Regions from separate parts of the Homo sapiens genome. Here all the other regions are linked to region 3. Evidence: promoter capture Hi-C in human tissues and cell types (Jung and others, 2019). All regions are on one chromosome and are shown on one strand. Each heading gives the region's core, a stretch centred on a gene start or on the middle of the fragment in contact. The rest is flanking DNA. Distances are from core to core; before and after follow the strand shown. Region 1 overlaps FIBCD1 (fibrinogen C domain containing 1). Region 2 has its middle 52 kb from the start of FUBP3. Region 3 holds the start of PRDM12 (PR/SET domain 12).

What was found. Contacts are between HindIII fragments. The study calls those that stand out against the background at their distance.
Region 1: a fragment that was not itself captured here is called in contact with the fragment with the promoter of PRDM12 in region 3 in 1 of the 25 tissues and cell types used here (bladder).
Region 2: a contact is called between a fragment that was not itself captured here and the fragment with the promoter of PRDM12 in region 3, in 3 of the 25 tissues and cell types used here (H1 embryonic stem cells, IMR-90 fibroblasts and spleen).

The regions. Positions count from the first base shown.
Region 1 is chr9:130,907,509-130,910,553 of GRCh38, forward strand. The region is part of intron 5 of FIBCD1 (fibrinogen C domain containing 1); the gene reads right to left. Among named protein-coding and RNA genes, the nearest start is that of QRFP, 12 kb to the left of the region's middle. The HindIII fragment of the contact is 6,343 bases long and covers 1-3,045 here.
Region 2 is chr9:130,525,743-130,528,468 of GRCh38, forward strand. No RefSeq gene overlaps it. Among named protein-coding and RNA genes, the nearest start is that of FUBP3, 52 kb to the right of the region's middle. RefSeq lists enhancers at 18-519, 520-1,019, 1,784-2,284. The HindIII fragment of the contact is 3,402 bases long and covers 1-2,726 here.
Region 3 is chr9:130,662,932-130,666,012 of GRCh38, forward strand. PRDM12 (PR/SET domain 12) reads left to right here and starts at 1,663. Exons shown (of 5, transcript NM_021619.3): 1 at 1,663-1,945. The coding sequence starts at 1,723. RefSeq lists enhancers at 105-946, 2,237-2,910. The HindIII fragment of the contact is 18,845 bases long and covers 1-3,081 here.

The DNA.
Region 1 (3,045 bases), core at 250-2,749, 240 kb after region 3:
AAACAGACAGGAAACCACTAAGACCCTAAACTTCACATGTCCACCCCAGTGGACTTCCAGCTGGACTAAAGCTGTCAACCTAAAACAACACTAGAAAAACAGAAGAAAAGCCTGGGCGCGGTGGCTTACGCCTGTAATTCCAGCACTTTGGGAGGCCGAGACGGGCAGATCACGAGGTCAGGAGTTCGAGACCAGCCTAGCCAATATGGTGAAACCCCTGTCTGTACTGAAAATACAAAAATTAGCCGGGCGTGGTGGCGGGCGCCTGTAATCCCAGCTACTTGGGAGGCTGAGGCAGGAGAATCGCTTGAACCCGGGAGGTGGAGGTTGCAGTGAGCTGATATCATGCCACTGTACTCCAGCCTGAACTACAGAGTGAGACTCTGTCTCAAAAAAAAAAAAAAAAAGAAAGAAAAGAAAAACAGAAGAAAAAATAGAGGAGACTTAAAAAAAAAATAAAACTAGGAAGGGAAGGAAAGGAAAGCAGGGGCTAAAACCCAGAAAAGATACAAAGAAAAGGGTGGCAGAACTGAGTGCATAAACATCTTAAATTTCTAGGAAATAAATAATAACATGACCCCACAAAAGAAAAAGAAAAAGCTGAAAGACAAATGGCCAGAAGTTAATACCTATCATGTGTTGGACAAATGATCGGTAACCTTAATATATAGAGAGCTTCCATGACTCGATAGGAAAAGACAAAGCACTCATTGAGAGGGGATGGGGAGGGTGGTGCGGCAGAGGAGGGACTGGCGCTGTTGACATTCCTGTCAGGGCTCGTCTGCAGGATGCTGGAATGAGGACCTGCTTAAATGCTTCCTCCCGCATCATCTGCAGCTGCTGATAGATTTCAATTAAGATACCATGAGCACGGGCATCACCGCTGCTCCAGGGGGTGGGTGGTGGCGAGGGCATGCCTTGGCCCTGCCGCCTTGTCCTTATCTTTACCCCCAGCTTGGGGAGCCTGAGGCAGGGTCTCCCCATCTCCCCTCCTTCCACCCACCAGGTTCGGGGATGAGGCGAGCTGGGTTGGGCGCCAGTGTGTAGACCCTGCTGGGGCTCCCCCAACCCCAACACACGCAGGCTTGTGACAAGGGACCTCCCTTTCCTAAGCCTCAACTTCCTCATCTCTAAAAGGAGGGGACGACAGCAGGGCCCCCAACTAGGTGGGTGTGAGGCTTTGGGGACGATGCATGGGAAGCGTGTAGCTGGGTGCTCAGTGGGTTGGGGGTCAGCACGGGGTGTGGGCATGAAGTCCACACGGGGTGTGACCTTCCCTGTTGTCGGCACCCCCTGGGCACCAGGGCACGGCAGGTCAGAGAGGGCCCTGCTCTCATGGGCCCCGGTGAGGAGGGGGCATGGGTGGCAGATCTTGCCCAGGGGCCTCCATGCACACAGAGGGGCGGCCCCGCCTCACCACCCCAACCCTGCCTTTGGGGCCCCCGACCCCCCATCTTCCAGGGGTGTCACTGAACATCCTTACAGGCCTGGAGCCCTCCTGACCCCGGCTGGTGCCCAGACCTGCGCTCTCAGCCTCTCAGGTGGTGCTTCCCGCCAGGCACGCAGGCCCACCCTCTCCTTCCCGCCTAAGCCTCCCTACCAGCTCTGACCCCGCTCGCTCGCAGGGGAGTTCCTCAGATGTCCACACCCTTCTCACCCTCTCCCTCCACCACCAGCTCTGCCCCGCACTGGGGAACTCCCGGGATGTCCTCACCCTTCTTACCCTCTCCCTCCCTCCCACCCAAGGCGCCCCCTCCGCCGCCCCTCGCCCCCAACCCCCACAGCTTGTGGAACTCCCTGGATGTCCGCACACACCCGGGGGGCTTAAGTGCAGGAGGACACTGTGGGGCATTCGAGGCCGCCCAGATGACACTCGGGGCACACATTCCCCAGCACCTGTGCGTTTCATGTATATTCAAAACCTGCAAGGAGTGACTGCTCCCGGGGGTACAGGGTTTCCTTCTGGAGTGAGGAAAAGGTTCTGGACCCAGTGGCAATGGTTGTAATATTCTGAATATACTAAAAACCACAGGGTCATACACTTCCACACAGGGAATTTTGTTGTATGTAAATTATATCTCAAGAACAACCAGAAAAATCCACCTCATTTCAAGCCATAGCCACTTCCCAAATATATATAGGTAGATAGGACCTCAAAGTTGTGATTCTTTTAGGATGTTTTGTTAAGATAAATGTTTTGTTTAGATAAATGAAGTTTTGTTTAGAATATTTTGTTTAGATAGTGAAATGTTAAAAAAAAAAAAGAAATGTTAAGGACTTTCAAAAATTCTAAAATACTGAGTGAATTTAAACATAGGTAATGATATTGACAGAACCTTCTGAGCTCCTACTTTGTGCCAGGCAGGGACTGTGTCCCAGTGGCAGGAAGGCGTGCGGTTGCCTCCAGGCCCAAACAGGAGCCCTGGCTGGTGAGAGGTGACAGCGTGCTGGCAGTCCTCACAGCCCTCCCTCGCTCTCGGCGCCTCCTCTGCGTGGGCTCCCACTTTGGCGGCACTTGAGGAGCCCTTCAGCCCACCGCTGCGCTGTGGGAGCCCCTTTCTGGGCTGGCCAAGGCCGGAGCCCACTCCCTCAGCTTGCAGGGAGGGGTGGAGGGAGAGGCGCGAGCGGGAACCGGGGCTGCGTGCGGCGCTTGCGGGCCAGCTGGAGTTCCAGGTGGGCATGGGCTTGGCGGGCCCCACACTCAGAGCAGCCGACCAGCCCCGCTGGCCCCGGGGCAATGAGGAACTTAGCACCTGGGCCAGCGGCTGTGGAGGGTGTACTGGGTCCCCCAGCAGTGCCAGCCCACCGGCGCTGCACTCGATTTCTCACCGGGCCTTAGCTGCCTTCCCGCGGGCCAGGGCTCGGGACCTGCAGCCCGCCATGCCTGAGCCTCCCACCCCCTCCGTGGGCTCCTGTGCGGCCCGAGCCTCCCTGACGAGCGCCACCCCCTGCTCCACAGCGCCCGGTCCCATCGAGCACCCAAGGGCTGAGGAGTGCAGGCACACGGCGCGGGACTGGCAGGCAGCTCCACCTGCAGTCCCGGTG
Region 2 (2,726 bases), core at 191-2,690, 140 kb before region 3:
TGTAGTCCCAGCAACTCAGGAGGCTGAGGCAGGAGAATTGCTTGAACCCAGGAGGCGGAGGTTGCAGTGAGCTGAGATCGTGCCATTGCACTCCAGCCTGGGCAAGAAGAGTGAAACCCTGTCTCAAAAAAAAAAAAAGAGAAAGAGGATACATTTATCACAGCGGGTGCAATGTTCAGCCCAAATCATCTTTTGGGCCACCAGTCATGCCTGTTGTATTTGGGAAATGCCAATCATTGCACAAATGGGGAGACTGAGGCCCATAGAGAAGGGCACACCCTGATGAAGGGCCAGTCATAGTCACGACCAGGCTGGAATCTGCAGCCACCAGCCTCTGGATGTGCCTCACCCCAGGGGTCACAAGAGGCCCAGCAAGGAGTTAATGCCACTGGGAGGACAGTGAGGCGCCCCCTGGATCTTGCCCCCCAACTCCAGGAAAGAGGGTAAAGGTGAAGGAAGAAATGGCTGGTTGCCTCCACACTGTGTGCCCTCAGCCCATCTGGGTTGGGCACCAGGGACTGGGCAGGTGTACAGACTTTACTTCCTGCAGACCCCAGGAGGGCTGTGGCATCGGGAGGGAGACTGAGGCTGCCTGGCCGAGGGGAAGTGGGATGGTGACAGTGGCCGCGTTGACGGCTCGGCCCCAGGCGCTGCGCCTGAGCTCGTCTCAGCCAAACGTCTAACACTCATAGAGACACAGGCTGGGAAACCAGAGCTCAGAGAGAAGTCACTTGCAAGTCAGGGGCAGAGATGGGATTCGAACCCAGATCTGTGACTCCGGGCCCTGCGGGCAAGTGCCTAGGAAGATGGTGGGGGCCCGTGAGGAATCATCGCAACCAAACCAGCTTCCCTTCTGGCCCCGCACTGAAGCCATGTGAGCTTTCTGGAACACAATTGCATGTTATTCCTCCCTCTCTTGCCTGAGCTGAAAGCTTCCTGGGGCTCTTTAAAGTGTGACGCTGGTCCCTGGCCACCTCTGGAGCCCTGTCCCCACCTGTCTGGACTCCCTTTGGATTTTGTCCCTCAGCTAGACTGACCCATTTGCAGTCCCTCAAAAGCTCTGCCACCTGCAAACCGGGCCACCTGGGCCCAGGCTGAGCCCAGTCTTCCCCACCATCAAAGTCTGCACCCGCAAGGACAGAACATGCAGCGCGTACGGTGCACACTGTAAAGTGCGGTGCCCCCGCTACATGACGACAAGGGAGAGCAGATCAAACCCAGCCTGGCTGCAGCTGGCGAACGCTAAGAATCCAGCCGCTCAGACCGTGGTCTCTCACTTCCCTGGCATGCCCTTCACTGCCTCCTCCCGCCCCGTCCTCACTGTCCCCACTGTCCCCAGGGGAGGCAGGTCCACCCTCAGATTTACCAGGGCATGTTAAGACACAGTTTGAAGCCATCTCCGAGGTCATGAGGTCATGGCAGTTTCCCATCGATCTATTTGTCCCTCCCTTGCCTGACGCCCTTTGCCCCCATGGGCCCCCAGAGCCATATCAAACTTCAGCAGTTTCTCCCAAGGTCCAAGGAGCCAAAACACAGGGCAGGGCCTTAAAACACAGCCAGCGGGCGATTTACCAGCTGGGCTGCCCAACCCCTGACCTCCGGAGGAGATGTAATGCATCTCCCTGGTTTAGCCGGATCAATGGTGCTGTGAAAAACAGCCCCATGTGGGCCAGTTGGGACAGGAGGGAGACACCCCTGCCGCCAGAAATCCCACCCGGACAGCCGCGGAGTCAGCCTCCGTGCACACGCACGGCCCCAGGACCTCGCTGGGCTCGCCGACTGTCTCAGGCAGGAGCTGGGATTGCTGAGACCAGCCCCTAGAATTCGGATGGGGAAACTGAGGCTGGGGGGCTTCTCAAGGTCACAGAGTAAGTTCAAGGAAGCCTCCAGTTTCCCCAGGGGGAACTCTCCCTGCTCAGCTTCGGCCTTCTCCTGTGGGCGAAGGTGGCAGTGGCCAGCCAGTCTGGTGGGGCAGTCGTGGTATTGGGGGTATCATAGGTCCCTGGAAGGCCAAGCTTGGCTGTCCCACAGCCTCTGGGCAGGACCAGTGGACCCAGTGTGCCTCCAAGGTGGGACTTCCTGCCTTTGACTCTGTGTGGGGCAGAAACTCCACCTTCAACAGAGTGTCCTGCCTGAGTCACAACATCCCAACGAGGGCAGAGGCCAGAGGCAGCAAGCCACCCCATGCTGGGACCCCCTTGCTCCCCAGAAAGCACAGTAGCCCATATTTAGGGAGGAAGGTTAACAAGAGCAGGAGGGCTCTGCTTCCAAATTCTCCTCGGTCCTCGTGTGACCCTCTACCCCTAGCCTGAGCCAGCAGGAAGAGCAGGCGGCTCTACAGCCTCCCGCCTTCAAGCAGGGGCCATAGACCCACAGGGGCCCCTGGGAGCTCACTAGAAAGGCAGAATCTGGGCCCCTTTGCTCCAGACCTACTGACCACAGTCTGCATTTTAACAGCTGATACATGCGCGCGCCAAGGCTGAGAGTGCTGGTGTTTAGAACCTCCCGGAGTGAAATGAGAAGGGGCGAGTGTGCATGTGTGTGTTAAGATCTTTACCCTAAAGAAAGGGCCTGAGATGAGGAGGGAAGGTGGGAAGGGAGTTAGGTAAAAAGGAAGGTAGAATGGAAGGGAGGAAAAAAAAGATACCCTCCAGATGTCCAAAAAGTATCTGAAGTAACTTCATTCACCTCCCATTCCTTCACTGCATATTTATTGAGCATCAGAG
Region 3 (3,081 bases), core at 413-2,912:
TAGGCTGGTGATGGGAGCCAGAAGTGCGGCAGGTGGGGTGAGCTCCCTCACCCAGCATGTCAGGGCCTGGGGTCCGAGGCTTGAGGCTGACACTGGGGAGCCGCGAAGCCTGCAGGAAGCGGGGCCTTCCGCTGGGCTCAGCAGCTACCTGCTTCGGGAGAGGGGATCGCTGGGCTCCGAGGTGCCTCGAAACCGCCGCAAAGCAAGTCTGCTCCTGGGATGATGGGCAGGAGGAATAGAGGAGAGGAAGGGAAAGAAGAGAGAGGCAGAGGAGAAAGAAAGAACTAGGAGGCAAGAAGGAAGGGGCGCCGCAACGCCACCGGCTTCCCGAGGTTGCAGCTCAGCAAGGAGCCGGAAAGCCGGGCCGCAAGCCGAACCCGCACTGAGGCCTCTCGCGGAGCTGCCTGCAGTTTCTGAGGGACTTCGCTCTCAGGCACGCCTGCTCCCACCTAGGAAGGGTCTCGGGACCCCTTTCAATCCCCCTATATCCCGTAGGAAATTCTTTTCCCAGAGACAGGCTGCCAGGGCGATTCCTGTCCGCCCATCTCGACCCCCGACCTGGCCCCGCAAGGGCCGGGAGCCTGGCCTTCCATGAAGCTGTCTCAGGCCGGGACCAGCCCCAGCCCCGACGGCCGCTGCGGCCCCGCCTCGGCAGCCCCGTGAGCCCGCGGAGGAGTTTCGCACCCGACCGTGCACAGCGACCGAGTTGGCGCGGCCCGTATGAAGCGAAGCGCCGGCTTCAGCAGCGCAGTCTGAGCAGGGGATCCGCGTGGCAACTAGGGCTGCGCGCGAGCTCGGGGCGACTGTGGCGGCCCGGGGAGTGCAGGGCCGGAGAGGGAAGAGGACGCGGGCTCTGGCCGGGGAGGGAGAGCGGTGCAGGGCTGGGCCGGCCAGCCGGGGCAGCAAAGTAAAGGTGAACGCCGGGCTGGGCCAGGCCGGTGAACATAGATCAGGCCTGAGGGGAGCGCGGGGCCCGAAGCCAGGCGTCCCCTCTTGTCTAGCCTGGTCCCTGGAGTCCTAGAGAGCCTCGCCGCACCCCCTCCCCTTCTCCGTCCCCTCCTCTCCTCAGAGCCGGCTGAGCCTCCCTCCCTGCCCTGCGCTTCCCACGGGGAGAGAAGGAAAAACAGGAGGGGGGAGGAAGGACCAGGAAGGGGAGAGAGGAGTGGAGGGGTACTGTTTGGAGCGGTCCGCGCGCCCCCGCCCCTCGCGCTCTCGCGACGAAGGCTCCTCGAGCCCAGCCGGGTACAACAAGTCTGTCCTCCGACGTCAGGGGGTCATTAATAACCAATTAGGAGGGTCACTGCGGCTCCTATAAAGGCGCTGAGATTTTGCCAAGGGGAAGACGGCCCCGGCCGAGTGTGCGAGAGGCTAGCGCGCGCCTGAGCCCCTTGCTGCCGCTTCCCTGCAACCACCCGCCTCTCACCCACCCTGCACCCCCCGCACCCGCCTCCGCCTCCACCCGCGTCTCTCCACCCTCCGCGCCGCCTTTGCCATCTCTACAGATTTCACCATCTCTCTTCCCCTCTCCCCCTCGTTCGCTTTCCTCCCAGTCGCCCCCTCACCTCCCGCTCCCTCCTGCGTCCTCCTCCTCTCCGTCCTCCCCCTGCTCTGGTTCCTTCTCCATCGCAGCGCTCTCCTCTCGCCCCTTGGGCTCCCCTCTCGCCCGCCCACCTCCCCCGTCGGCCCGGCCGTCCCCCGGCGCCGGGGAGCTCCGGGCCGCCCATGATGGGCTCCGTGCTCCCGGCTGAGGCCCTGGTGCTCAAGACCGGGCTGAAGGCGCCGGGACTGGCGCTGGCCGAGGTTATCACCTCCGACATCCTGCACAGCTTCCTGTACGGCCGCTGGCGCAACGTGCTCGGGGAGCAGCTCTTCGAGGACAAGAGCCACCACGCCAGCCCCAAGACAGCCTTCACCGCCGAGGTGCTGGCGCAGTCCTTCTCCGGCGGTGAGTCCAGCCGTCGGAGCCCGGCGCAATCCCTCCTCCCGGCGACCCCCATTCCCGTCCTGGCGATGCGCGAGACGCGGCTGGGATACCCGGCCTCGCTGCTACTCGCGCCAACCTGGGCTCTCCCGGCGCTCGGTGCACCTCAGTTTCCCCATGGGCCAAACCAGGACGCGAGCCACCAAGCAGCTCCGCAGCCCACCCGGCTCAAGGACCGACCCCGGCGACCCCGTCGCTCGGCCCCGACGCCCCCGCCGGCCCCTCCCTTCCCCTCCTGCGCTTGAGCTGGCGGGTTCCCGGCATTTACAGCCTTACTAGGCGTGTAATAGCAGTTGACTCAAAAAGAAGGGGTTTTAAATTCATTTAGTTAACTTGGGCTTGACCCACGAAAGTTCCCACTTAAACCAAGAACTTTAAAAGGCAGCCGGGGCTGGGGAGGGGGTGGAGGGAGGGCGGGCGGGGAGAAAAAGCCGCGGGGAGAGCGAGGGAGAGAAAGAGAGAGCGAGAAAAGTTTCTTTTCTTTAAGATGTCTCAAGTTCTTATTCCTCATTCATCAACCCGCAAACAATATCTTTCCCTGGCTCTGGCATCTCTGCGCGTCGCCCTCTTTTCCCCCTTTACGATTTCTGTTCCTCTCTTAATTTACCGTGAAGACTAATTCCACTTCCATTCACGCTATGTCAACCATCTAATCCCCCTTTTTTGTAAGGGGAATTCCTCGGCCCCTTTTAAACAAGTCCCCTCCGCATTGAGCTACAATTTACTGCTACAGCATTCTTCCAGGGCTAATGAATTTAGAATTAGCAATTTCTTTCGAATGGAGCCGAATGAATGCGATCACTTTAACAGCGTGACAAATTGCCCGCCGCGCCGCAATGGACACCGTTTAACCCCCCCCTTTCAGCCGGCCCGCTCGCCGGGTATTTTCCCAGGTAGCTTAGAGGGGAACCTTGTAAGACATGGAGGCCGCCCTTGTGCGCCTCGCCGCTTCCAGCCCTGCCGCAGATGCCCGACAGGGGAACCCTCGGGGAGCTGGGGGCCGCCGCGGCTCCTCCCCGCCCAGAGAGATGACATCGGGGTTTGTCTGAGCCCGGGCGCCGCCCTCCCTGGCACCCCAGGGCCTGGGAGCAGAGAGGGAC